Regions from separate parts of the Homo sapiens genome. Here regions 1, 2, 3, 4, 6 and 7 are each linked to region 5. Evidence: promoter capture Hi-C in 16 types of primary human blood cells and fetal thymus (Javierre and others, 2016). All regions are on one chromosome and are shown on one strand. The core of a region is centred on a gene start or on the middle of the fragment in contact, and the rest is flanking DNA. Distances in the headings are between cores, read along the strand shown.

Evidence for each region. Contacts are between HindIII fragments. The CHiCAGO score rates a contact against its expected background, and 5 or more counts as called.
Region 1: a fragment that was not itself captured here is called in contact with the fragment with the promoter of C11orf71 in region 5 in 6 of 17 cell types (total B cells, naive B cells, total CD4 T cells and 3 more); the score reaches 10.1 in total B cells.
Region 2: a fragment that was not itself captured here is called in contact with the fragment with the promoter of C11orf71 in region 5 in 2 of 17 cell types (total B cells and total CD8 T cells); the score reaches 7.0 in total B cells.
Region 3: a contact is called between the fragment with the promoter of CLDN25 here and the fragment with the promoter of C11orf71 in region 5, in 10 of 17 cell types (total B cells, naive CD8 T cells, total CD4 T cells and 7 more). The highest score is 19.3, in total B cells.
Region 4: a fragment that was not itself captured here is called in contact with the fragment with the promoter of C11orf71 in region 5 in 10 of 17 cell types (total CD4 T cells, non-activated CD4 T cells, monocytes and 7 more); the score reaches 12.8 in total CD4 T cells.
Region 6: a fragment that was not itself captured here is called in contact with the fragment with the promoter of C11orf71 in region 5 in 7 of 17 cell types (activated CD4 T cells, naive CD4 T cells, naive CD8 T cells and 4 more); the score reaches 6.6 in activated CD4 T cells.
Region 7: a fragment that was not itself captured here is called in contact with the fragment with the promoter of C11orf71 in region 5 in 3 of 17 cell types (activated CD4 T cells, naive B cells and fetal thymus); the score reaches 6.3 in activated CD4 T cells.

What each region holds. Positions count from the first base shown.
Region 1 is chr11:113,797,222-113,800,996 of GRCh38, reverse strand. It overlaps USP28 (ubiquitin specific peptidase 28), which reads left to right. Exons shown (of 26, transcript NM_001346252.4): 26 at 1,582-3,122. The coding sequence ends at 1,757. Among named protein-coding and RNA genes, the nearest start is that of CLDN25, 19 kb to the right of the region's middle. The HindIII fragment of the contact is 2,228 bases long and covers 1,103-3,330 here.
Region 2 is chr11:113,850,971-113,855,220 of GRCh38, reverse strand. It overlaps USP28 (ubiquitin specific peptidase 28), which reads left to right. Exons shown (of 26, transcript NM_001346252.4): 2 at 886-963; 3 at 2,588-2,720. Among named protein-coding and RNA genes, the nearest start is that of USP28, 22 kb to the left of the region's middle. RefSeq lists enhancers at 3,398-3,937, 3,938-4,250. The HindIII fragment of the contact is 4,668 bases long and covers 220-4,250 here.
Region 3 is chr11:113,778,071-113,782,122 of GRCh38, reverse strand. CLDN25 (claudin 25) reads right to left here and starts at 2,327. Exons shown (of 1, transcript NM_001101389.1): 1 at 1,638-2,327. The coding sequence starts at 2,327. The coding sequence ends at 1,638. The HindIII fragment of the contact is 9,706 bases long and covers 1-4,052 here.
Region 4 is chr11:113,868,590-113,872,724 of GRCh38, reverse strand. The region is part of intron 1 of USP28 (ubiquitin specific peptidase 28); the gene reads left to right. Among named protein-coding and RNA genes, the nearest start is that of USP28, 4.9 kb to the left of the region's middle. The HindIII fragment of the contact is 5,153 bases long and covers 1-4,135 here.
Region 5 is chr11:114,399,081-114,402,833 of GRCh38, reverse strand. It overlaps C11orf71 (chromosome 11 open reading frame 71), which reads left to right and starts at 2,323. Exons shown (of 1, transcript NM_001271562.2): 1 at 2,323-3,753. The coding sequence starts at 2,503. The coding sequence ends at 2,874. It overlaps RBM7 (RNA binding motif protein 7), which reads right to left and starts at 2,168. Exons shown (of 5, transcript NM_001286045.2): 1 at 2,067-2,168; 2 at 974-1,136; 3 at 1-6. The coding sequence starts at 2,162. RefSeq lists enhancers at 1,996-2,538, 2,436-2,825, 2,539-3,081. The HindIII fragment of the contact is 8,162 bases long and covers 1-3,753 here.
Region 6 is chr11:113,757,144-113,761,154 of GRCh38, reverse strand. ZW10 (zw10 kinetochore protein) reads left to right here. Exons shown (of 16, transcript NM_004724.4): 3 at 237-338; 4 at 565-642; 5 at 787-946; 6 at 2,449-2,601; 7 at 3,302-3,493. Among named protein-coding and RNA genes, the nearest start is that of ZW10, 15 kb to the left of the region's middle. The HindIII fragment of the contact is 2,430 bases long and covers 161-2,590 here.
Region 7 is chr11:113,813,494-113,817,557 of GRCh38, reverse strand. USP28 (ubiquitin specific peptidase 28) reads left to right here. Exons shown (of 26, transcript NM_001346252.4): 14 at 2,176-2,384; 15 at 3,603-3,673. Among named protein-coding and RNA genes, the nearest start is that of CLDN25, 36 kb to the right of the region's middle. The HindIII fragment of the contact is 2,019 bases long and covers 1,414-3,432 here.

The DNA.
Region 1 (3,775 bases), core at 967-3,466, 600 kb after region 5:
GTCATGGGCGCCTGTAATCCCAGCTACTCGGGAGGCTGAGGCAGGAGAATCACTTGAACCTGGGCAGCGGAGTTTGCAATGAGCCGAGATAGCACCAGTGCAATCCAGCCTGGGCCACGGAATGAGACTCCATATCCAAAAAAAAAAAAAAAAAATCATGCAGAGTATGGTTATGGGAGGGGTGCCTTGATGAATTTTTTCTGTGGCTTGAAGTTATATAGCATATTAACTATGATGACTTCAAGATTAATTAGTGGACTGTCCTTGCTTGTTTAAAGCATCTTAAGGAGGGAATGTAAAGCTGGTTGTTTTTAGGTGAGTTCAGTAGACTTGGAAAATTGTTATATATTCTGATATGAATCCTCTTTGTTAGGTTCTCACTGACATAGAGATACTCTATTGATGGGGCTAGGCACAGTGGCTGACACTTGTAGTCCCAGCACTTTGGGAGGCCAAGGTGGGTGGCTCACTTGAGCCCAGGAGTTTGAGACCAGCCTGGGCAACATAGTGAGACCCTGCCTCTACAAAAAATGAAAACTTAGCTGGGTATAGTGTAGTTCTAGCTACTCAGGAGCCTGAGGTGAGAGGATTGCTTGAGTCTGGGAGGCCGAGGCTACAGTGACCCAAGATCATACCACTGCACTCCAGCTTGGAGTGAGACCCTATCTTTAAAAAACAAACAAAACAAAAAAGGCCGGGCGCAGTGGCTCACGCCTGTAGTCCCAGCGCTTTGGGAGGCTGAGGTGGGCGGATCACGAGGTCAGGAGATGGAGACCATCCTGGCTCACATGGTGAAACCCCGTCTCTACTAAAAATACAAAAAATTAGCCGGGTGTGGTGGCGGGCACCTGTAGTCCCAGCTACTTGGGAGGCTGAGGCAGGAGAATGGCGTGAACCCGGGAGGCGGAGCTTGCAGTGAGCAAAGATGGCGCCACTGCACTCCAGCCTGGGCGACAGAGTGAGACTCCGTCTCAAAAAAAAAAAAAGATATTCCATTGACTTGTTCAAGTGTTTAAGTTGATAGTATTTATTTAAAAATCCTGTAATAGCTAGTTGCCATGTGTTTCCCTTTACTGTCTTCAGTTTTTATTTAGACCAAGCTTGTCCAACCTGAAGCCCAACACAAATTTCTAAACTTTCTTAAAACATTATGAATTTTTTTTTAACCTCATCAGCTATTGTTAGTGAGGTTCATGTGTGGCCCAGGGAAGCCAAAAGACTGTACACCCCTGATTTAAAACCATGTGTATACACTGATATATTGTAAACATTTGAAAGAAAATAATTACCATCATATCTATGCTAGAGTATCATATCTACTTCCTTGTATTTTAAGAAGACAATTGGTTAGAAGACCCTTTCGTAATAAAGTAATTATATAGTTGTTATATAGCAGTGAGCTAAAGTTTGGTTTATTTGCCTTTGCTCCTGGTTTGGCCTGAAGGAATAATCATTTATTAGTAACTGGCCAGCATAATGCTTTGACCTTTGAGGTTAGGTAAGGGGCTAATAGAAGGCTTGTTCACTTTTACTCAGAAATCTGTTTAGCTGTATATGTAACCATCTGTTTTCCCTCCACAGAAAATCTGCAGCTGTGCCTAGGGGAGTTTCTACCCAGACTTCTAGATCCTTCTGCAGAAATCATCGTCTTGAAAGAGCCTCCAACTATTCGACCCAATTCTCCCTATGACCTATGTAGCCGATTTGCAGCTGTCATGGAGTCAATTCAGGGAGTTTCAACTGTGACAGTGAAATAAGCTCCCACATGTTCAAGGCCCATTCTGGTTCCTGGCTGCCTGCCTCTTGCACAGAAGTTCGTTGTCATAGTGCTCACCTTGGGAAAAGGATTAGGTGGGCACATAAGATTCCGATCAGACCCCAACCATGCTGCATGTGTAAAGAAGGATTGAAAATAAAATTGCACTTTTTAGGTACAAAATCATAAAAGCTGTTTCACTAGAAAAGGCAGAAAGCAGTGTATTAAGGTGTTGAATTACGCCAGAAGACCTGAAATGCCTTGTACCTACAACAATGCTTAGGCTTTTCTAAGCCTCTTGCCACTTTTAAAATTATCCTTCAGGCATAAATATTTTTGACAGCAGAATAGAAGAATGATTCATGAGAACCTGAACCAGATGAACAGCTACTAGTTATTTTATCAAATACAGATGACATTTAAAAATTCTTAACTACAAGAGATTAGAAATATAAACCTTGCCTGGCTCTTGCCAGGAGATAACAAAATGGGTTGCTGATGAACTGCACCCTTTTACATGTGGGTAGAATATAAGCTCACATGGCAGTGAGATGTTGAAAAGTCAAAAGAGACCTGTCTCTCTCCTTTCTTTTCTATCTTTAAACCAGAAAACCTCATACTCAGTCCTCAGTGAAAGAAAGTAAAGTATTAAGGACTTTAGACAGAAGAGCATTGTGTAACTTGACTGAAGATCATCCATTAATAGTTATTAGGCATTTAGGTAAAATTTTCTAATACCTAAAAATTGTCAAAAACAGTCAATAGGGCTACTGCTGGCCCAAAGACCATTTAGGTCCACCTCCTCTTTTTTGCTCTTTTTTTTTTTCTGTGACAGTTTCACTGTGTCGCCCAGGCTGGCGTTCAGTGGTGCAATCTCAGCTCACTGCAAACTCTGTCTCCTGGGCTCAAGTGATTCTCGTGCCTCAGCCTCCCGAATAGCTGGAATTACGGGCATGCACCACCACACCTGGCTAATTTTTGTATTTTTAATAGAGATGGGGTTTCACCATATTGGCCAGGCTGATCTCTAACTCCTGGCCTCAAGTGATCTATCTGCCTCCCTCAGCCTCCCAAAGTCTGGGATTGCAGACAAGTCATCGTACCCGGCCTTCTTTTTTGCCCTTAAAAGTAAGGGATGTGGGTTTGTACAAAAAAAAAAAAAAAAAAAAAAAAACCAGCATACATATGCAAAACTATATATATATGTATATGTAGAGAAAAATACTTCCCATTGATCATTTTTAAAAGGCTTCTGATTGGATATTGTGTTTTAACCAAATTTTAAAGATTAATGGAATCATGAAAGGGAAAAAAATTGATACAACTATGCAGATTTTATAAATGTGCAATAAAAGTATTTGTTTTACCTTTGGTGTGCAGTATGGTCTTTATTTAAATATATATTTTCCATTTGGGAAATGGACATACTTGGTATTTGTCTTGTTCCAATTTTTCTTCTTTAAAACCAAAAAGCAGATTAGAGGGTTGATAAACTGGATGGGGACTGACGCGCCAGTGTTTGAAATAAAAGGCAACAGTCAATTATTGAGCAGCACCTAGTGGTAACTGAAGCTTTTTAATCTCATTGGCTATTTGCATTGCATGTAAGCTTATCTACTTTGTCAAATTTTTGAATGCAAAAACAGCAATTTTCTTAGAATGGAGTTTCTTATGTAGTCATTCCTCAGCAGACACCGGCAATTGCTGGGACCCCTGCATATACCAAAATCCATGCATACTCAAATTCTGTAGTTGGCTTTGCAGAACCCACATATAGGAAAAGTTGACCCTCCATACACTTGGGTTTTCACATGCTGTGAATACTCTATTTTCAATCTGCATTTGGTTGAAAAAAATCCTCATGGGACTCATGCAGTTCAAACCTGTGTTTTTCAAGGGTCAAAATGTATTTTGATTAATGGTAGGCCATGCTTTACAGATATTCAGAGGTGCTTTAGTGTTTTAAAACTCATCGCAAAGATTGTTTCATGGGAAGTTGATCAATTTTCTTACTGATTA
Region 2 (4,250 bases), core at 1,304-3,803, 550 kb after region 5:
AGGTTTTTCCATGATTTAGGTTAATGAAGAGAAAACATTTCATACTTTATACCCTTTGAAATTATGTATTTAATTGAGAAAATTCTAGCTTTAGCTGTACTTTTTAATTAGTCAAACACAGAGTTTTAAATATGTTGGTGTTATCATTGGTTAATTACATGATTGGAAACTTATTGTCAGTGAAAAATGATACACACTAATGGCATGTGCAGGAAAGCTTAAAATAGCACATCTTTATATCCATGCAAATTCCCCGGACTCCTTATATGCCCTACTTAATGCACTGCCTACCAAAAGAAAAACCTGGAGAACTTTTAAGTGTCCATTAAGGCTAGAATATTACATTTAAATGTTTTATATATTTGTAATTTTACTGTCATCTATTTCTTTCGTAAGTACCAAAGGTATTTCCATGATTGAACTTTTAAAAGAGAAATAGATTTGGCATTTCAGAATATTTCTGACAGCCAATACCTTGTTTCTTGGAGCTTGTTGGTTCTTTAGAGTAAAAAAATGCAGGGCCGTTTGCATTGGCCCACACCTGTAATCCCAGCGGACTTTGGGAGGCCTAGGCGGGTGGATCACGAGGTCAGCAGATCAAGACCAGCCTGACCAACAATGTGAAACCCCGTCACTACTAAAAATACAAAACTTAGCTGGGCGTGGTGGCCTGTGCCTGTAATCCCAACTACTCGGGAGGCTGAGGCAGGAGAATCGCTTGAACCTGGGAGGCGGAGGTTGCAGTGAGCCGAGATCCGGCCACTGCACTCCAGCCTGGGCAAGCCTCAGGCCTGTTTATCCAAGATGCTTTTAGTTATTCTTTAAATGTACCCAGGTTTACTTTCTGACTGACATGTTTGTGGTTTTTTTGTTTTGCAAATATAGAGCTGCCAAATGCTGTTAAATCAACTGAGAGAAATCACAGGCATTCAGGACCCTTCCTTTCTCCATGAAGCTCTGAAGGTTGGTTTCCAGATCTCTGTTAGTCAGGAGGCTTTAAAGCAGCTGTCTATATTATAGTTATGTCAGTTCAAGCTATTTCTATTCCCAAATTAAAGCACATATAGGGACAGAAGCTCTACAGGTCAAATGACTGACCCAATGTCTTCAACATGTAAATTATAAGGGGCTGGGGGAGATTTGTGGTTCGGGTAACCCTGCAGGGTATAAAAGAGATTTAAGAAACATCAACCAGTTGCACTGTTTAGGCCTTATATTTCCTGATCCAAACCAGCAAACTAAATAATATTTGAGTCAGGGAAGTTTGAACTGGTTATCTGATATTGAAAAAACCTGTTGTTATTCTTAAGGTATGTATATATATATACTTTTTTTTTTTTTTGAGATGGAGTCTCACTCTGATGCCCAGGCTGGAGTGCAGTAGCACAATCTTGGCTCACTGCAGCCTCTCCCTCCCGCATTCAAGCTGTTCTCCCACCTCAGTCAGCCTCCCAAGTAGCTGGGATTACAGGCATGCGCCACCACACCTGGCTAATTTTTGTATTTTTAGTAGAGACGGGGTTTCACCATATTGGCCAGGCTGGTCTTGAACTCCTGACCTCAAGTGATCCACCCGACCTGGCCTCCCACAGTGTTGGGATTACAGGCATGAGCCACCACGCCGGGCCATGGGTTATATTTTTAAAAGATATGTTCTGAAATGTTGACCAGTGATAAGATGGTTAGGGTTTGATTCAGAATATCTACGAGAGTATAGGAGGTTTAGAGAAAATAAGAAAGGTTATGACTAAGTGACTAGGTAATTGTTGAAGATGAGTGATAGGTACATGGGGTTCTGTTATTCCCTTTCCTGGTATATATGTTAGAAATGTTTCCTCATAAAACATTAAAAACAAGAATGATCACCACTAGAAAACAGGTAACTGCGTGGCTTTTTTTTTTTTTTTTTTTTTTTTTTTGAGACAGGAGACAGGATCTCACTCAGTTGCCTTGCCTGCAGTGCAGTGGTGTGATCTCGGCTCACTGCAGCCTCTGCCCTCTGCCTCCTGGGCTCAAGCGATCCTCCCACCTCAGCCTCCCTAGTAGCTGGGACTCACGCCTGGCTAGTTTTTGTATTTTTGGTAGGGATGGGGTTTTGCCAAGTTGCTCAAGCTGGTCTCCAATTCCTGGGCTCAAGCGATCTGCCCGCCTTGGCCTCCCAGTGTGCTGGGATTACAGGCGTGTGAGCCACTGCGCCTGCCCTGCTTGGCATTTTTATTGTAGGGCTGACTTCATTTAGAATGTCTATGTTAATTGCCAGCCCCCTTTTTTGACACATCGTGCTTTAGACTGTTCAGAGAAATCATGAGTAGTAGTATCCGAAGCAATGGGAACAAATCTCCATCAAGATTTCACTTTTGTTTGGGTGTTGTGGGAAGTCAGAGCATGGAAACTCCCTCCTGTAATGAGGCATTTAATAGACGCTTCAAGCACATTAGACCTACTGTCCACCATAGTCTCATAATTCTACCCTAGAATTATGCCTGAAAGTACTCAGTGTGTCACCAGGGTAATAAAGTTAATACTCAAAACTGGTTTTAAATTCTATGATTACTTTTGAAATTTCTATTGTCTTTTTCTCCCATAGGCCAGTAATGGTGACATTACTCAGGCAGTCAGCCTTCTCACTGATGAGAGAGTTAAGGAGCCCAGTCAAGACACTGTTGCTACAGAACCATCTGAAGTAGAGGGGAGTGCTGCCAACAAGGAAGTATTAGCAAGTAGGTACCATATATCCTGTCTTGGTCCTTTGCTGAACTAGCAGAAAATAACAAACCAAGTATATGTGAGTTCCCTGTCAATCACATCAGCCCTTTGAAAATAATAGTAATAACAGCTTATTACTGAGCTATTGCTATGTGGCAGGCACAATTCTAAGCACGTAAAAAGTTCTGGCCGGGTGCAGTGGCTCATGCCTGTAATCCCAGCACTTTGGGAGGCCGAGGCAGGCGGATTACGAGGTCAGGAGATCGAGACCATCCTGGCTAACACGGTGAAACCCCGTCTCTACTAAAAATACAAAAAATTAGCTGGGTGTGGTGGTGGGCACCTGTAGTCCCAGCTGCTCGGGAGGCTGAGGCAGGAGAATGGCATGAACCCGGGAGGCAGAGCTTGCAGTGAACTGAGATCGCACCACTGCTCTCCAGCCTGGGCGACAGAGCAAGACTCCGTCTCTTAAAAAGAAAAAAAAAGTTTCATTTGTTCATTTACTCATTGTTTAGCATTTATTTAGTGAGGACCAACTATGTGCCAAGCACTCTTGAAGCCCTGCCTGCATTTAGCTTGTTTTTTAGTGGGAGAAGATCAACAAGTAAATAAATTATTAATATATTAGAATGTGATAAATACCATGGAGAAAAAGGACAGAAGAAAGAAATGAAAAAAAGAGTGCTGGGGACTGTATTTCCAATTGGATGGACTTTTTTTTTTTTTTTTTGAGATGGAGTCTCACTCTGTCATCCAGGCTAGAGTGCAATAGCGCGATCTGCGCTCACCGCAACCTCTGCCTCTGGGGTTCAAGCCTCAACCTCCTGAGTAGCTGGGATTACAGGCGCCCACCACTACGCCTGGCTAATTGTTTGTATTTTTAGTAGAGACGGGGTTTTACCATGTTGGCCAGCTGGTCTTGAACTCCTGACCTCAGGTGATCCACCCGCCTCAGCCTCCCAGAGTGCTAGGATTACAGGTGTGAGCCACTGCTCCTGGCTGGGATGGACTTTTAAGAATGTGCAGGGGAGGTGAGGGAGTAAGTCATTTGAGGCCCTAAGATGGGAGTGCACCTTGGCTTGCTCAGGGAACAGCAAGGAGGCCAGGGCTAAGGCTTAGTGAGTGAGGAGGGCCGAAAGGGATGGGGCCATGGAAAGAGAAGGAGGTGGATCATTCAGAACCTTCCTAAGTACTAGCTTTTGCTGTGAGTTAGGTGGGTAGCCTTTGAAGAGTTTGGAGCAAAGGAATGATATAAACTGATTTCCATTTTCCATCACTCTGACTGTGGTGTTGAGAACAGAATGTGGGGGAGGAGGTAGTGACAAGCATGGGTCAGATTAGGGAACCCAGGCCAGGCTGCTGTGGTGGAGGGTAAGCAGTGCTGGCATTCCGGCATATATTATTTTTAAGGTAAAGGCAGTAGGATTTACTTACTGAGGAGGTAGGGTTGTGTGAGAGAGAGAGGAGTTAAAGGTGACTCAAAAATTTTTTTCCTAAGCAACTGAAGCATTTAACCAAGATGGGAATCACTGTAGGTGGAGCAG
Region 3 (4,052 bases), core at 1,078-3,577, 620 kb after region 5:
GGCAAATTTTTTTACTCTTGTGTCATAGTCTGTGTATTCTTGCTTGAGCAATGGCTATCTCGTGATATTGGGGCTATTTTATCAGGAGGCGAGAGGCGTTGTGAGACCTCAGAGCTGAGATGACAAAGCACAGCACCAGCTTGGGGAGGGCGGAATGTCCCTGGTACTGTGAGGAATGCAGCACGCCTCTGAACCTGGAGAAGTGACCTACTTAGGGCATTAGGAGCCATCCCCTTTAGCTGCTCTCCTGAGGGAATTGTTGGCAGGGCCAATGGTGATTCTTGAACTGATTACAGGAGTGGAGGACAGGTGGCAGGGAGAGGAACAAGGTGGATGCTGCAGGATAATTGCAGCTGACAAACAGGTTTATGAGCAACAGGAGGCTCCTCCTTGAGGACCTGCAGAAATGCCAGAGGAAGACCTGAGGTGGGGTAGTCAGGAGAGAGCCTGCCATTGCAGGCAGAGCAAGCAAAGGAACTTAGGTTATCGTTATGGAAGGGACTTGATTTGTAGCCACAACCTGGGTAGGTCTGCTGACACTCAGGTTAAAATTTAAGAGGAGGCCAGAAGTTTGATAACAGCCTGGGCAATATAGCGAGACCCCATTTCTACAAAATATTTTAAAAATTAGCTGAGCTTGGTGGCTCATGCCTGTAGTCCCAGCTACTCAGGAGGCTGAGGCAGGAGGATCCCTTGAGCCTAATAAGAGTTTGAGGCTGCAGTGAGCTATGATCATGCAACTGCACTCCAGGCTGGGCAACAGAGTGAGACCCTGTCTCAAAAACAAAAACAAACAAACAAAAAAACACAGCAAAACAAAATTCAAGGAGTTTATACTGTGATTTTGCACTTGGTAAAAGACATTTCTGAGAAGCTACTTCTTTCATATACATGACCACATTGGGCAGTATTTGGACACAGTCATTCTAAGGTAATCACTGGGTCCCAGTTTGCTTGGGACTTTCCTAGTTTTAGCACCAAAAGTACCTTGTTCTGGGCAAACCAGGAGGGTTGGTCACCCTACCACTCACTCAGACTGACTGTTAACCTTCAGGTGGGGAAGACAGAGTAGACTGCTCATCGCCTCACAATGTAGCAGAAACAAGCCTATGTCTCTCCTTTGGGATATTAAGGATCTATAAAACAGCAAAGGTATATTGTGAAGTTGTCTTTCAAATGGTACACCTGAGGCTGAAAATGGACACAAAGAGAATTTCTGTCCTAAGATGCTGTTCTGGAACAATAATTCATTTTCCTTTGCCAAGGTACCTTCTTCAAGTTTTATTTTTGTAACCTATTCAGAACAGTAAGTGCCTCTTCACACTAGATTTTCTCTGATGGTTGCAATTTTGTAATATATTTTTCCTTAGTAATAAAAGAATCAAATATGTAATTAAGGTTATGAGTTTTTTAAAGCATTTTTATCTAAATAAAATCTCAAATCAGAAAAATACATTTGTTAGACACTGTGCCCTGATTTTTTATTCTGAAATGAGGACTACCATATCATCAAGACAATCACATCCTTGATAAGTGGGACAGTGACCACCAGCCCCAAAATGAAGCAAACAAACCTAGAGTGAGAAAGGAGTCTACAGACATTCCTTTATTCCAGAGATCCTTGGCAGAAGCCAGTCCTAGATGACCAGGTTCCTAGGTCTTAGCATGAGGTGGAAGGAGCCATCTGACTCCTCCACTGGAGCACAGGATAGGGGGACTGTGGGACCAGCCATCAAAGGAAAAGGCACATCTTCTTTTCCCAGGCAGGCCGAGAAGATGAGGAGTAGCCCACCAAGAGCCAGGAAAATACCAGCAGCCCAGCCCAAGTAGAGGGCACCTCCAAACTCCCACCGAGGTATGATGTCAGGGATGCTGTCATCCCAGAAGTCTTGGATTGTGGCATGGGCCACCCAGGAGACTGGAAGGAGGGTAGTGGCTGAAGCGGATGCCTCCAAAGTCCTTCCCAGGAGACCAAGCCGCCTCTTGAATACCCATCTGATCCTGTGAAACTGGAAGCATTCAGACCCAAAGCTGCAGAGCAAAAGCCCCAATAGGCCCAGCCCATGGGAGGCTACCATGAGGATGCGGGCTACCTGGAGCTCCTGGGGCAGAGACAAGAAGGATTCAAAGGCCTTGCACACAGTGGCGACTTCCTCTCGATCCACGCAGACCTCCCAAATCCCCATGATCCAGGTCTCCATCTCGTTCAGTTCCAGATTAAGAGTCTTCCACTGGGGCAGGATGGTGGTAACACAGGAGCAGACCCAGCCAAGGAGGGAGAGAAGTAGCCCCCCGAGCTGGACTTTTGCACGGAAACTCCAGGCCATAGTCACTCCCACCACAGATGCAGAAAGAAAAGGAGCACGAGTGGGTCAGTGACTGGTTAGCAGGGACTACTTTTCAGGAGGCTTGAGTGGAAGATCTTTCACATTGGGAGAGGGCTCTTGTTTCAGTATTCTGAGCAGCAGCTGAGGCAGGTGCCAGGAATTGGCAATGTTTGGGTTTAGAGGGTGTGTCCAATATCGGATGTGGGTGTGAAATCTGGGGGAGGGTCCCATGACCAGCAAAAAAGCCATACAGGGAGCCATCAATACATATTTGATGAATAAATTCATAAACTAAAATCACTCCTCAGCTCTGAGATCACAAGAATGATTGATGTTCTGGAAATATACGTTGATATAATCTTTTTGAAGGGCAACATGACTTTATGTTTCATGCTTTTAAACATATGCATACTTTGACCCAGCACCTTATCTCCAGGAATCTACCTAATGTATCATGAATACGTACAAAGATTTATGAAAATGTCCATTGAAATATTGTTAAGAATTGTCAGTTTTTGTTAATACTTGGCAGCCATTTTAAAGTGATTTTGTAGAAAGAATTTTAATGATTTGAAAAATATTTTTGATATATTGTTAAGTGAGAAAAGCAAGTGACCAAACAGTACATGGAATATATAGAATGCAGCCGGGCACGGTGGCTCATGCCTGTAATCCCAGCACTTTGGGAGGCTGAGGTGGGTGGATTACTTGAGGCCAGGAGTTCGAGGCCAGCCTGGGCAACATGGCGAAACCTCACCTCTACTAAGAAAGTGAAAAAAATTAGCCGGGCATGGTGACACACGCCTGTAGTCCAAGCTGCTTAGGAGGCTGAGGCAGGAGAATCTCTTGAACCTGGGAGGCGGAGGTTGCAGTTAGCCGAGATCATGCCACTACACTCCAGCCTGGGTGACAGAGTGAGACCCCATCTCAGAAAAAAGAAAAAGCCAAAGAATATATAGAAATATGTGCGTGTGTGTGTGCGTGTGTGTGTGCGTGTGTGTGTGTATATGTGTAGACCACAAAATGTTAACATGATTATTTTGGTGATAAAATTATGCATAGTTTTTATTTCCTTATTTGTGCTTACCTATGCATTTTACGCATTTTACACATTTTATAAATTTATCACTTAATATTTTTATTACAAAAAGCCCACAAATATTAATTTTACAAAATAATTTTAAATTCCTCAATCCAAGGAACCTACCCAGACACAGAATATCCCCAGAGGGAGGTGCTCCCTCCCCAGGCTCCCCTTGCTGCTGGGACAGCAGCTATAAATAGATGGTAATCATACCAGCTTCCATTCCTGTTTGTTGCTGCTGCCAAGTAGCAGGTTCTGACAGGAAAGGAAATAATTTGCATTTACTGAGTACGGCTAAATGCCAGACTTTTGGCTAGACACTTTATCCGTATTTAATTTTCACACTGCCACTGTGTGATACATGTTACGTAACTTGCCAAGGTCCCCCAGCTGGTAAACAACAGATCCAACACGAACCAGGCAGCTCAGACTCGGACATTTGATGTTCTTGTCCCCAGGCTGCAGCAGCTGCCCCTGCACACTGGTGACACATCATGTGGGTGAGGCTTAGTCTTTATAGCGAGACAGAGAAGAAAACGGACTTATTCTGTTGGAGTCATGAATGTCTGACTCATGTGTTTCCCTATTCACAAATTAACCTGCTCCACACTGTGGTAGATATGAAGTGAAAGCAAAGGTGT
Region 4 (4,135 bases), core at 744-3,243, 530 kb after region 5:
TTCTTGGCAGCTGTACTGAGGGTTCACATCACACATTCTTTATGTCAGCTGAAGCCTTATAAAAACCTGCCAGTTTCAGTGAAAATTTAATGCCCTTTTTGCTTTCTCTTGATTTATTGACCTTTCGTTTCCTTTTGTCTCATTAACTGATTTTTAAAACATCAGTAAGTCAGTGATTGGTTCCACAACTCTCATGCCCCTCTGCCCCCAAATGCAAACAGTATTTTTTTTTTTTTTTGAGACGGAGTCTCGCTCTGTTGCCCAGGCTGAAGTGCAGTGGCGCGATCTCTGCTCACTGCAAGCTCCGCCCCCCGGGTTCATGCCATTCTCCAGCCTCAGCCTCCTGAGTAGCTGGGACTACAGGTGCCCACCACCACGCCCGGCTGATGTTTCTGTATTTTTAGTAGAGACGGGGTTTCACAGTGTTCGCCAGGATGGTCTCGATCTCCTGACCTCATGATCCGCCCGCCTCGGTCTGCAAACAGTATTTTTAAGACTTACTGGCAAATAGCATCTTACCAGGCGAGATCTCTCCATGTGTTCTGTTTCATCAAAGAAATTAAATCAATAGTAAAATGAAGCAAGTACTTAACAAGGAAAATAATGCTGGTAATAGTAATAGCTAATGCTAATTGAGCATGCACTATGTGCCAGACTCGGTGCTCAGAACTTAACATAGCATTCTCTCAGTACTTACACAACTCCATGAAGTTTCTATGAGAAGGCTTATACTTGTTAAGTAATTCGTCCAAGGTCACCCAGTGAGGATATGGTACAGTTGGAATTGTATCTAGGCAGTTCTGACCCCAAGAGCCCAAGGCGCCCCTGGTCCTATCTCATAGTTGATGGGCCCATTGCCCTGGATCACAGACTTTCCACTACTCTTATAATGCCTTTTCTAGAACTCTCCTAATGTTTTAAACTTCCAGTCCTCCCTACAGTCTTTCTAAATAGATAATCTTCTTTTCTACTTGACTGAGCTCGCTGATGTCTAAAAAGAGCTCCCTGCCTTCTGTTTTGTCCCCCTCTCCCTACGCCATCTCATCTCTTTTCTCTTATTTCAGTGGAAAAGGTTCCCTTCCTTTTTCCCCCTTTCATTTCTTAGAGATAAACCTAGATTAATGGTTTTTACTAGGGAGAGATTTTGTAATCTAGGAAGCATTTGGCAATGTCTGGAGACTTTGATTGTGACTCTGGAGGGAGGATGCTACTGGAATGTAGTGCGTAGAAGCCGGGAATGCTGCTAAACATCCTGCAGTGTACAGGAGTAAGCCCCTCTAAACAGAGTTATGTGTAAATTGTATAAAATAGTGCTGAGCTTGACAAACTCTGATCTAGATGATGTCTCTCTTCTCTTTCTATTATGTCCCTTCTCCTTAGTCCTAGTCTAACCCCCAGACACCTTCACTGTCTTCTCCCTTGCTACTCACATTATGGTCCACAGACCAGCAGCATTCACATCCCCTAGGATTTAGACATGCAGAAAGTTGAGTGTGCTAGAGCCAGCTTGCTCTGCCTCTCCAGCTGATTTTGTACATCTCTTTCCAGCTCTGTGTTCAATGACCTCGTGTTGATAACTGTGCCAAGGTGGGAATATTTATACCAAGGAAACAAGCATACACTGCCAATCAGCATACCACTGCCTGTACCCCCACTCTAGACCTATTCAATCAGTTTCTGCCTTTTGACAAGATTCTTGGGTGATTCATTTGCATATTACATTTTGAATTTGCATTTTCCATTTTACCGTGCACTTGTCCTCTATCTTGAAACCAAATAACAACAACAAAAGTGTCTATTGCCCAGTCCAGCTGTTGTCTCCACCTTCCTCCTCTTGTTTGCTTTTGGAACAAAGTTTCTAACCCCACCTGTTTCATTTCTAAAACATTTTTCCAGTGACAATGTATTCAGACTCAATATACAAAACTTGGAAAAGACAGACTTGAGCAAGACTAACTCTTAGCTGACAGGAGATTGAGGAAGGTTGGTTCCCAGATTCTGCTACAGAGCTTAAGGTGGCAATAACAGCTTCTGCAAAAGCCAAATAATGAGATGGCCGTGTGGACCAGTCTGGGCTCCAGCAAATGGCTGATTGTTCAGAGGCCTGCAGAGGGACTGACTAGGCAGCAGCAGGTTAGGTTGAAAGGCAGTGAGTGGTTTTATGTAATCAGAATCTGCTCAGCAGCCTACTTTGCCAAGGCAGGATCTCTCCCTCTGTCACCCAGACTGGGGTGCAGCGATGTGATTATAGCTCACTTTGGCCTTGACCTCCTAGGCTCAAGCGATCCTCCCACCTCAGCCTCCTGAGTAGCTGGGACCACAGGCGTGCATCACCGCACTTGGCTGTTTTTTTAATTTTTTATAGAGACGAGGTCTTGCTATGTTGCCCAGGCTGGTCTTGAACTCCTGGGCTCAAGCAGTCCTCCTGCCTTGGCCTCCCAAAGTGTTGGGATTACAGGCATGAGCCACCACACCTGGCCCCCTCATACTTTTATTATTTTATGCTTTTATGATCCCTCATTACCACTTTTTTGCTGTTACTTTTTTCTTGTTTTGTTTTTTGAGACGGAGTTTCGCTCTTGTTGCCCAGGGTGGAGTGCATTGGCACGATCTTGGCTCACTGCATCCTCCGCCTCCTGGGTTCAAGTGATTCTCCTGCCTCAGCCTCCCGAGTGGCTGGGATTACAGGCATGCACCACCATGCCCAGCTAATTTTGTATTTTTAGTAGAGACAGGGTTTCTCCATGTTTGTCAGGTTGGTCTTGAACTCCTGACCCCAGGTGATCTGCCCACCTCAGCCTCCCAAAGTGCTGGGATTACAGGCGTGAACACCTGGCTCCAAATCTACATTTCTAATCCTGAGTTGCAAATGACTTCTATACTCTGTTTCCCAGTGCTTTTTGAACAGGTCTGCTTGAATATCAACCTCCTTGGCTATAAACGTTTGCTTCATACTTATTTTCCCAGGGTTGTTATACTAGGCATGGGAATGTACACTTGTATTACTCGTGTCTGCCATATGCTATGTACCACCCTAAGCACTTTTCCATACATTTTTATTTACAAAAACCCAGCAAGGTGTGAACTATTACCCTATTACTGATGAGGAAACTGAGATGTCTTGTTTGTTTTTTGAGATAGGGTTTCACTCTGTCACCCAAGCTGGAGTGTGGTGACACCGTCAAGGCTCACTGCAGCCTTGACCACCCAGACCCAAGCAATCCTCAGACACTTGAGTAGCTGGGACCACAGGTATGCACCACCACACCTGGCTACTTTTGTTTTATTTTATTTTTTGAGACGGACCGCAGTCTGTTGCCCAGGATGGAGTACAGTGGCGTGAGATCAGCTCACTGTAACCCCCGCCTTCCGGGTTCTATTGATTCTTCTGCCTCTGCCTCCCAAGTAGCTGGGATTACAGGCACATGCCACCACGCCTAATTTTTGTATTTTTAGTAGAGACGGGGTTTCACCATGTTGGCCAGGCTGGTCTTGAACACCTGACCTCCGGTGATCCGTCTGCCTTGGCCTCCCAAAGTGCTGGGATTATAGGCGTGAGCCACCGAACCCAGCCTGTGGTTAATTTTAAAAGTTTTTTTAGCAATGGGGTCTCTCTGTGTTGCCCAGGCTGGTCTCAAACTTATGAACCAAGTCATCCTGCCTCAGCCTCCAAAAGTGCTGGGATTACAGGCATGAGCCACCGTGCCTGACCTCAGATGTTAGTATGCCTTATAAGGGCCTCATATGAGATTTATTTTATTTATTCCTTTTCTTTCTTTTGTCTTTTTTTTTTTTTTTTGAGACATGGTCTTACTCTGTCACCTAGGCTGGAGTAGTGCAGTGGCTCTATCATGGCTCACTGCAGCCTCAACCTCCTGGGCCCAAGCAATTCTCCTACCTCAGCCTACAGAGTAGCTGGAACTACAGACATGTGCCACCATGCCTAGCTAATATTTTTAGTTTTTGTAGAGATGGGGGGTCTCTTTATGTTGCCCAGGCTGGTTTTGAACTCCCGCGCTCCAGTGATCCTCCCGCCTGAGCCTCCCAAAGTTTTGGGATTACAGGCGTGAACCATGGTACCTATCTCTTTTTTTCTTTATTCGTATGAGATTTTAAACTGAAGTCTGTTTGCTTC
Region 5 (3,753 bases), core at 1,074-3,573:
TACTTCCTAAAATGAAACAATTTGAAAAATTATTCTTGATAGAAAATCTAATTTGAAATTTTGTCTTCCCCACTTGAAATCACTCCAAAAAGGTAAACACAATCTAAAAGAGAAAAATCTCAAACTACTGGCCGGGCGCGGTGGCTGACGCCTGTAATCCCAGCACTTTGGGAGGCTGACGTGGGCACATCTCTCGAGGCCAGGAGTTCGAGACCAGCCTGACCAACATGGTGAAACCCCACCTCTACTAAAAATACAAAGAATTAGCCAGGCGTGGTGGCGTGCACCTGTAATCCCAGCTACTCAGGAGGCTAAGGCAGGAGAATCACTTGAACCTGGGAGGCAGAGGTTGCAGTGAGCTGAAATTGCACCACTGCACTCCAGCCTAGGCAACAGGGCAAGACTCCATCTCAAAAAAAAAAAAAAAAAAAAAAAAAAAAAAAAAAAAAAAGAATCTCAAGCTGCTGTAGACCGCTTTACGGCTTCATCGGGGTGAAAATTATAAGTGTATAATATCAGATAAGCAAAACAAAGCACTCCATAAATATCCAATCTGACCATAATTTTCTGATCTCCACCCTAAATTGTAACACTGGATACATGGACAGTTTCATCCTCACATGATCAAGAACCAAAATATATAAAAGTAATTACAAAGCAGCCAGGAGAAGTATTTTCAGAAAATAAACCTAGCTCTTTTCAGAGTACCCAAGCCCAGCTCTCTTAGTGATACAGTTTATGTTTTTTCACTAACCCAAAATGAAACTTTAAGCTCAGTTTTGAAATTCTAATTTCAAAATCCATGTGTCAATGTTACCCGTTTTCAGGGATATATAAAGTTTGCTATATAAAGTTTACTATTCACAATGCTTAAGAAAGAAGTTTCATCTACAAATAAGAGGTTCTTTAAAACTGAATAATAAATTTAAAAACAGCAGGAAACAATGCCCCCCGAACCTCATTGGGCAGTTACCTGATCTAAATTGAATTTTGATAGGCCTTCCATAAAGTTTGATTCCATTAAGTAGATTCATTGCATAAGGAACAGACACTTCATGTTTGAAATTCACAAACGCAAACTGCTTTGGTTTACCATCCTTATCTTTTGGAATTTTCACCTTTATTACTGGCCCAGCCTACAAACAAAAAGGTGTTTAGAATTTAAATAAAGCAACTAAGGGAAAATACTCAAATTTTACAAATAAGATATGACAAAGTTTAAAAACAACAGAAACGTAATCAGAAACTTCTTTTGAAAATGATGCACGGATTTCCATTTTGGCTACAGTAAACATCCTAGTTATGACTGAACATTAGATTTATTTGGGGAAGGGGGCCCATAAGGAACTGGAAACACAATCACTTTTGCAATTCACAGCACTGTATGGCTTAACATAGTGACCAATCGCCATTATTTTGCCACTCCATGAAAATGAACATTTATCAAGAACAAGAGAATGATTTTCTTTAACTAAAAACGGACTTTTGTATTGATTAATCAAACAATACCAGTTATTAGGGGATAGGGATGGGGGGAATAGGATACTCAGAATTTTTCACACTTTTTAATACAGCAACACTAAAATGCTGTTTTTCTACGGAGTACTTAACCATTTTATTTTACATATTTTAATAATGCTGCAATTTGATAAGCAAACTTTAGGGGAAAACAGACACAAATAAATTAAAATATTAAGTTCCCAGTCAGATAAACCAAAGACAAATTATCCTAAGGGGAAGATGACAACAGGAAGGATAAGAAAAAGCACTGCTCAACGAAGACCCTACACACACACTGTGTTCCCAAGGACCCCTGGATCTCTACCACGGGAAACCTGATCGAGGATCCCTCCACCACCTTTAGTCGTCACTTTCGGCCTAAACGAACCAAGATCTTCCAGGAAAGCGACACCCAGCGAGCGTTTCGCAACCCAGACCCGCCTTTCACCCCCAAACAGCCACCCGTCGGGTCCCCTGACGGCTACGAAAAGAAAACGGGGTGGCCGCTGGCCAGGCCCTAGGCGAGACGGAAAACGAAAGGCAAAGGGCCGAACCCAGCCGCTTACCTGGTGGAAAAGCTCGAAAAGGAGCTCCTCGGTCACTTTCGTTTCAAGGTTGCCCACAAAGAGAGTGCGATCCGCTTCCGCCGCCGCCGCCCCCATCTCAGCGTCGCCCCCTCCCTAACCTGGCCAAAAGGTCGTGGCCGACGCACCCACTGCGCATTCACGGAAGCCCCACGTCCTCACGCTCCCTGGCGTCACAAACGAAAACGCCCGTTGCGCTTGCTCTCAGCGGGCGACGACGTGCGCGGACGGTCTGCGCATGCTCGCCAGGATACCCCTCGTTAAAGGCAAGGCGGCTTCTGGCTCTTCCGCAGGCTCAGTTATGGGTTCCTGTGTGCTTAGTCATCGGGTCCGACACAGGCTGGACTGATCTGGGGAGCCGCGAAGGGCCTGCCTTCACAAAGGGACGTAACGCAAGTACTGCGGGCAGTGTTTGAATATGGCCCTGAACAATGTGTCCCTGTCCTCCGGTGATCAGAGGAGCAGGGTGGCCTACCGCTCTTCCCATGGCGACCTCAGACCGCGGGCGTCAGCGTTGGCGATGGTCTCCGGAGACGGCTTCCTCGTTTCCAGGCCTGAAGCGATTCATCTAGGACCTCGGCAGGCGGTGCGACCAAGCGTTCGGGCCGAGAGCCGTCGAGTGGATGGTGGCGGCCGGAGCCCAAGGGAACCAGATGGCCGGGGCCGGAGCCGCCAAGCCAGATTCTCACCTTACCCAATCCCTGCCGTTGAACCCGATCTCCTAAGAAGTGTGCTGCAACAGCGTTTGATTGCATTAGGAGGTGTTATCGCAGCTCGAATTTCAGTTTAAACGAACACCTTTCCTCTGGCCCTCACTTAGCTTGTGAACAGGCCTTTTTAAAATCCTTTCTTGGTGTAGCAGCAATCGTGTTGTTTTATTTTTAGATGGATGTATTTTCATTTAATACGTGGGAGTTATATGAATATGTCCTAGCACTAAGGGAAGTGTAACAGTTGATTGATTTAGGTGGTTTTATGCAGCCAGAACGATTGGATCAGGAAAGGTGTGGAAGGGATATTCTTAGGTCGTCACAAAGCTGAGCTGATGGGAGCACCCTCCCCAGAGGTCAACAATCCATTCGTTAACTCAGACACTTAACCTTTACCTTTACTTCTGTTGGCGAAAAAGAAGTGCTCCTTTTTATTACACTGATTTATCCTTCCATCTTTTCCTTGGCATTTACCATCTTCCATCTCCCCCTTCACTTTTTTCAGATATGTCTACAAACAGACTCCAATCTCAGTCGCACTAAAAATAAGAACAAAACCTAAACCTTACAGTTCTTTCAAATTATTAAATCAATTTATTATTCCTTTCTTTGGCAAAGGTTCCAAATTTTTACTTTATATTTGTAATTTTACTATTTGCATTCAGTCCCAGCGCATTAATCTGAATCTGCTGTCCTAAAATACACTGGTGAAAACATTACTTGTACAATCTCCTATCAGAAAACTGTTCATCTACTCACTGTAGTGCCCTCCTTGAAATGTGTGTTTGTTCATTCAACTAACAATATTTGGGGATCCCTGTAGTAAACACTGTATGAATTTTACACAGTCTGGCCATCAAGAAAGATCACGGAGTATATTCTAGATGGGGAGGCTACTAAGTGAATAGGAATCACCACGCTGGGCTGTTTATTAGGTACAGTAATAAACATAAGTACTG
Region 6 (4,011 bases), core at 126-2,625, 640 kb after region 5:
ATGAGGATATTATGTTGAGAGGAATGGGTATTCTTGCAATAGGATAAGGGTTTGGACTAGTTGGACCTCTAAGGTATCTTCCTACTACATTCTGTGATTTTTATTCCAGTCTTAACTAGCATTTAAATTTCAACATAAATTATGTTGACCTAGTAAAGCTTATTGATTTGCTTTAAATTTTTTATTTCTTAGGTATGGTATAGCTTAAAAGTACTTGTTTTTGATGTGTGAATTAGGTCCGCCGGGATCTTCACGTATCAACCGGTGAATTTACAGACTTAAAGCAGCAGTTGGAAAGAGACTCAGTTGTCCTAAGTTTGCTTAAACAGTTGCAGGAGGTCAGTAAACTCAACTTGAACCTTAGTGTTTTGGTGGTGGGAAGGTCTCATTAGTCAATGGCTATCTCCTGACTATAATGGGTTTTTTTGTCTTCATATTTTTTTTTCTTTCTTTTTTTTTTTTTAGAGGGGGGAGGGGGAGGGAAAGTGGGAGCATTTCTTAATGTTTAAAAGCAAACAGACTTGAAATAATAGGATGTATAAAATATTATACTTAACTTTTCAGTTTTCCACTGCTATTGAAGAATATAATTGTGCATTAACAGAGAAGAAGTATGTCACTGGTGCTCAGCGTCTGGAAGAGGTACTAAATGCTCTCCCCAAAGCATGCGCAATAAGTGCTCTTCTTGTTTTCAGTAAATTTTGTATTTTTTATCATTATGCAAATATATTCTAATTGCCCTGAGTCCAGATGGAATGTTTAACAGTGATTCCATTTCGTTACCAGGCACAGAAATGCTTGAAGTTATTAAAATCCAGAAAATGCTTTGATTTAAAAATATTGAAATCTCTCAGCATGGAGCTCACAATACAGAAACAGAACATACTTTATCACCTTGGAGAAGAGTGGCAGAAGCTGATTGTATGGAAGTTCCCACCATCAAAAGGTGCTGCTGACCTCAGGTGGACTGCTTTGCTTCATCTGCCTGAACCAGTGTAGTGTCTGAATATATTCTACATTTTTGTATTAGTAGATGAGGGTTCATTCATAATCTTCCATGTCTGTATTGAGCACTCATGTTAGCAAGATGCTTTCTTAGGACCAACTCATCTGGGTCCCTAAAGTGCCCTCACCTTGCTTCCCTTACATCCCTCTTAGCTGTCCTGTTCCCTAGAAATGTGAGAAAAGATGCTAGGGTAGTTGGGATCATGTGGTGAGAGTGTGCTAGAGGAGATGATAGCAATTTGCGACCACATTAAGTTTCCATTGCCTTGTAGGACGTGCCCGTTCCTGACAGCCCTAATCCTAGCAGTTTATCTTGGCTAGAAAGTGTAAAGGAGCTCTCTAGCCATTCTCTCTCTTGCTTAGGAAAGAAGATGGATCAGTAGGCTTGTGGGTAGAGGAGGGGTCTTGCTCAATTTCTTTCCAGTCCTTGGGGAAAATAATGAGCTAGGGAGTGCTTTGCAAGGTGAAGAAATAGGATTACTTCTGCCCTGGCTTTGATTTATGCTACTTGGCTGTCAGCCTTTCTGCCTACCTCTGGGTATGAGCCCTCTTTGGTGTGTTGTTTGCCCTGAGAGTAAAACTTCAGAGGCTGTATTTAAAGGACATGCTATTGTACCTGGTGTATTTTCCAACACTGGATTTTGAAATTTAGTGTATTTCAAGAGAAACTTTCTCCCCCTGTTCCCTTTCCTATATCCACTTTGGCCTACAAATTCATTATATACATATGTGTGTACATAGACACATATGTGCATATGTGTATGTGTGTCAGGTATTTGAAGGGAGTTATCCTGAAAATTTTAGATTCTGTTCTCAAGTAGAATATTAGTTAAGAGAAGAGGGCAGGTGTGTTGAATTATTTGTTATAACACACCCTACTTGTTAAACTTGTTTGGCAGAAAGAACATAGAAAGGAAGGTCTGTGAAACTAGGACCTCATTTTTCTTTTTTTTTGAAACAGGGTCTCGCTCTGTCGCCCAGGCTGGAGTGCAGTAGCTCAATCATAGTTCACTGCAGTCTCAAACTCCCAGGCTGAAGCGATCCTTCTGCCTCAGCCCCAACTACTTCTCCCACCCTGCCCCCAGTAGCTGTGACCACAGGTGCGTGCTACCACGCCTGACCAATTTTTAAATTTTTTGTTAGAGACAGCGTCTCACTACGTTGCCCAGGCTGGTCTTGAACTCCTGGGCTCAAGTGATCCTCCCGCCTCGACCTCCCAAAGTGCTGGGATTACAGACATGAGCCCCTGCACCTGACCTCAAAAAGTCATTTCCTTTTTTAAAGTGATGCCAAGGACATGTATGTCATAATTCATATTTGGTTGCATTAGGAGTATATTGTAATAGAACTGCATTGGAAATATCAGAGAATGAGCTCTGAGGAATAGAAGTGGGAACATCTCATATTGGTGAGACAGCTGATATTTTTCTTCCTTTTTCTTAGATACCAGCAGTTTGGAATCTTACCTACAAACTGAACTTCATTTATACACTGAACAATCGCACAAAGAGGAGAAGACCCCTATGCCACCCATCAGTTCTGTCCTCTTGGCATTTTCTGTTCTTGGAGAACTACACAGCAAGCTTAAATCATTTGGTAAGGCATGCTACTTTGTTTCATTTACACAAAATCTCCTGAGGCCCAGTATTAAAGGGAAGACAGAAAAGATGATAAAATATTCTCTGCAGAGTATTAGTATAGGGTCTGGCCTCTTGATTCATCAAAGAGAATTGTCCTAAATATTATCCCTTTTATTAAGGGATTGGGTTTTTTTTTTTTCAACTGTTCCTATTTTTTTTTTTGGTTTTTGAATAATTTAAATAAAAATCTGTAGACAATCTGGGAAACTTCAGTGGTAAAACCTGCACCGCATAATGGTTGGTGTGTAATGTCATGGTATATGTATTTTGGTTGTTAGGTTCAAAGATTCATATTTTTTTTTTGACATGCTTACTTTTTAGAAGTGTTTTTTTTTGAGATGGAGTTTTCGCTTTTGTCGCCCAGGCTGGAGTGCAATGGCATGATCTCAGCTTACTGCAACCTCTGCCTCCTGGGTTCAGGCAGTTCTCCTGCCTCAGCCTCCCGAGTAGCTGGGATTTACAGGTGCCTGCCACCATGCCCAGCTAATTTTTGTATTTTCAGTAGAGACGGGATCTCACCATGTTGGCCAGGCTGGCCTCAGATGATCCACCTGCCTCGGCCTCCCAAAGTGCTGGGATTACAGATGTAAGCCACTGTGCCTGGCCTAGAAGTGTCTTATGGTGATTTTTTGATGAATGTTCATATGATTTTTCAGGTCAGATGCTGCTGAAGTATATCCTTAGGCCGCTGGCATCTTGCCCATCCCTTCATGCTGTGATAGAAAGCCAGCCTAACATAGTTATTATTCGTTTTGAATCTATAATGACTAACTTGGAATATCCATCACCATCTGAAGTTTTTACAAAGATCAGACTGGTACTAGAAGTGCTCCAGAAACAGCTTCTAGGTATGTGTCTCCAAGGCAGTGCTTTTATATTTTGGAAACTAAATATTGTTTATAAAAGTAAATATTATTTTAAAGTAGAAATGCCTATAATGTGTGAGAAAGGAGGATGAAAAGTAAGTAAATTGTGCCATAGGGGCAAAAGAGTTGCCTTCTTGTTTTTTTGCCTATTTTGCATTCCTTCTCTGCATTGTATTGACAAGTAGGGCCATCAGTGGTACCCCAGATTCTGTATTTGTGATATTATTTTAGTTGAATTCTAGGATGCACTTCTCTCACTGGACTCCCAGTACCGTCACAAATTGGAACTCGTGCTTTAATTATAGGAGAAGAAGAAATGAACCAAGTGTTGTTTTACATATTTCCATTAAAACCTCTATTAATCTGATATAACCAAACTTAGTTTAACATAGGAAATAAATTCTATTTCAGCCTGTTGATCTTGGTGTATTCACACTAGACACAGCCAGTTTCTGTATTCCATAAATCATGTTTTTGGTTGTTGTACCATTAAAAGTGAA
Region 7 (4,064 bases), core at 1,174-3,673, 590 kb after region 5:
ACAGGAGCTGTGAGCTCTTTGTCTTAAAGGGAAGGGTTTTGCTGACTGTCACTTGGGTGGGAGTGGGCCCACCAGTGCATTTGTCTTATCCGTAGAATGGTTGGGTTATTTCAGAGGCTTCTCAAACTGTTCAGGATAGTGTTCAGGCTCCACCCAGTGATGCCTTGTTTTGAACTACAAGCCAGCTGCCATTAAAGGCCTTTCTCAGAGGAAACCTCAAGCCCTGCTCTTCCAAAACATCTCATGCTCACACACTTGAAGTATGCATGACTAAGAAACATCAAGGAAAGAGAGACTTATTCTTGAATAGAAAATTAGTACTTGAAAAAGAACTGGCTAGAAATAAGAGGACAGCTTAGAGGGGCTTCTCTAGTAAAGGCAGAGGGAGGCAAAGTCACAGGAGCCCTCTGATTTTATTCCATCCAGTCATGTGCAACAATCTTTATTGCCTAGAGGAGCCATGAAAGGTAGCTAGGACATTTGATATGTGTTACCTGGCTAATAAAAACACTAATACTCAATAAAAAGTTAGACTTTTTTGTCAAAAAATCTTAACTATTCTCCCCAACACATCCCCCGCCACCGCCCCACGTATTAATATTTATTCATCCATGTATGCATAGAAATGCTTATTTGGATAGAACATACCAAATGTCAAGAATGATTATCTCTAAGGAGTGACATGAGTCTGGGGATAGGAGTGGGGCTGCTCTTTCACTTTTTATATTCTACTTAAATTTTTTAATTTTTGTAAAAATAGAATCTTTTTATGTATATTATGAAATGTAAAGTTTTAATTTTTAAAAAGTGGTTCGGCAGGCTATTTAATCAAATAAAATAATAGTGCTTGGTATTAGATTTAAAAATTACAGGGAGGTGTATGTGTGTAATCTCCTCTGAAATTGAGATATCTGTTCCCTTGTTGGGCTTATTTTTCCATAAGTATGGACCTTAGGGAAAAGAGATTTCCTCCATTATTTTGTGCATGTGAGAGAGTGAGGAGGAGGGAGTGAGGTTTTTTTGTTTGTTTGTTTGTTTGTTTTTTTGAGATGGAGTCTCACTCTGTCGCCAGGCTGGAGTACAGTGGCATGATCTCAGCTCACTGCAACCTCCGCCTTCTGGGTTCAAGCGATTCTCCTGCCTCAGCCTCCCAAGTAGCTGGGACTACAGGCGTGCCACCATGCCCAGCTGAGTTTTGTATTTTTAGTAGAGATGGGGTTTCACCATGTTGGCCAGGGTGGTCTCGATCTCTTGACCTGGTAATTTGCCCTCCTTAGCCTCCCAAAGTGCTGGGATTACAGGCGTGAGCCACCGTACCCGGCAGGAGTGAGAGTTTTTTTTTAAGTCAAAGTAAAGGAAGTTTATATTCTTCAGCTTTGGTGTAAAAGAGAAACCTAACTACAATTAGAAGCTTATTTTATATTCCTGCTGGTTTGTTGACCTGCAGTTTTACTCTGACAATAGAGAAATTAACATTTACTTGATATGCTTTATTCTCTGTTAGTTTACAGAAAAGACGTAAAGAACTTAAGATTTATATTTTGTAGATGAGATATTAATACTTTTTTCCTTGGGTATTTAGCTAAAGTAGTAGAGCTAGGATTGTTTGACTTGAAGCCCTTCTCTCAGAACTCTCCAAGGTGTCACCTAGTGTGTATTCCTGTGAGTTGTATGTTCAGCTGATGCTTCCTTTTTCTTCCTTCTGTGTATTTTGTTCCAGGAAGGATAGTGTCACTTTAGTTGGCTTCATCTTGTAAACTCTGTAGTTGATTCCTTGATTCTTCCAGGCCTAGTCTTCTCTTTTCCATTTTCCTTCTCTTCCCATCCTCATGGGAAGGAATAATCAGTGATCAGAGAACATGAGCTAAAGACTGGCCGATCTGGCTTTGGATTCATTTTCATTACCTTCCAGCTTGGTGAACTTGGGCATGTTGCTTAATTTATTTAAACCTTAGGCTCACAGTTGGTAAAATAGGGATAGAAAAGTATCTACCTCACAGGCCAGTTGTGGTACGTGAGATGATAGAGAAAAAGGTTGGCTCTGTACCTTTATAGAGTTAATGCTCACTGAATACCTGTACTTTTTCATATAGCATCTTGCTTTCCAAAGTACATAATTTAGGCCAAGGTATCTTTTGGAAATTATCATATGAGCATGATTTTTGTCTTCCTCAGTACAAGTACAGAAAGCTCTTCTCAGGATGTTGAAAGTACCTTTTCTTCTCCTGAAGATTCTTTACCCAAGTCTAAACCACTGACATCTTCTCGGTCTTCCATGGAAATGCCTTCACAGCCAGCTCCACGAACAGTCACAGATGAGGAGATAAATTTTGTTAAGACCTGTCTTCAGAGATGGAGGAGTGAGATTGAACAAGATATACAAGGTTGGCTCTTTTAAAATTTGTCAGTTACTCTTTGCTTTTTCTGTTTTTTGACTATTTGGAGGTTAAGCACCTCGGTACACTTCCTGACATTACTGTACATGCTACAGAATTTCCCCCCCGCCGAGATGGAGTCTCACTCTATCACCCAGGCTGGAGTGCAGTGGTGCAATCTCAGCTCACTGAAACCTCCGCCTTCCGGGTTCAGGCGATTTTCATGGCTCAGCCTCCCAAGTAGCTGGGATTATAGGCATGTACCACCACACCTGGCTGATTTTTTTTTTTTTTTTAGTAGAGATGGGGTTTCACCATGTTGGTCAGGCTGGTCTTAAACTCCTGACCAAAACTGATCTGCCTGCCTTGGCCTCCCAAAGTGCTGGGATTATAGGTGTGAGCCACTACGTCTGGCCCATGCTTTTGAATTTTGACATGGTAATTGTGACTTCTTTTGCACTTTTAGTGCCCTGTAAACTTGGCTCACACACCCCCATTATACAGATATGGAAAGATCTCCCCCTCAAAATTTCTGGGAAATGATCACCTTTGCTGAGATTTTTCTGCATCAACTGATTTCTGTTTCTGTGGTAGATTATCTGAACTCCAGCTTAAGTTGACCCAGATTTAGCATTTAGCTTTTCTGGACTTCTACTCTTCAGTCTTTTCTATAGGAAGCATGCTTTACTGAAGGTTAATGAGGTATTTGAGCAGTATGCACAATGTAAAATTGGATTATTCAGCATTGTATTCTTAAAAAGCCCTTTGACCTCATTGCCCATATTGCTCAGACTAACCTTACCCCCCTTCCTGTCTCCTTTTGTCTAGGGAACAAAAAGATGATGGAAAATACAGATTCTTCCCAGATTCCTATTCAGAGAAATTTAGCCTTACCCTTTGTTCTGCTTTCTCATTTCAGATCCTGTCTGAGGCATACATTTTACAGCCAAGTGACCCATTAAGATCTTTTCCTAAACAGCTTACTCTTTAAGAAATTTTGGCAATTATAAAAAATAATGTTTTAAAACCTTAATGTAATTATATTGAACTAAAAGCTTTCATAACCTAAAGTACTAGCTGCTTTAAAACTGTATATTGCTTCGTGGTTCATAGAGGGAAGCTGAAATCATTAGGACCCTAGCAATATTCTTTGCTTAGTTAAAGTAGCCTGTGTGACATAGAATGAGATCATTTTAGTGAAGCTTTTGTTTTTCTTTTTCCAAACAGATTTAAAGACTTGTATTGCAAGTACTACTCAGACTATTGAACAGATGTACTGCGATCCTCTCCTTCGTCAGGTAGAATGAAAATTGATGGGAAAGTAGTCAAGGCATGTGCTAATGGTAGATACAAAAATCAAATTTGATAGTTTTCTTTTAAACCCAATGGGAATCCCCCTAAGATAAAAGAATAAACTTAAGATATAAATTGATGTTGTTCTGTTTCTTTATTTTAGGCTAAAGAAAGCAATATACCTTTTACCAAAAACAGGACCTAACACATACTTGTTTGAATTCTGCCACATGGAATTTTTTCATATTGTAGAAAGGTTTGCTGTCAGATACTAATAAAAATTACTTACAAAATGGTACTTTAAGTAGTGCAGTGGGAAAAACTGAACTAGAGAACAGTTATCCTTTCTTTCCCAAAGTTCCATGATTCTTCAAGATCTTTAATTTAACAACATGC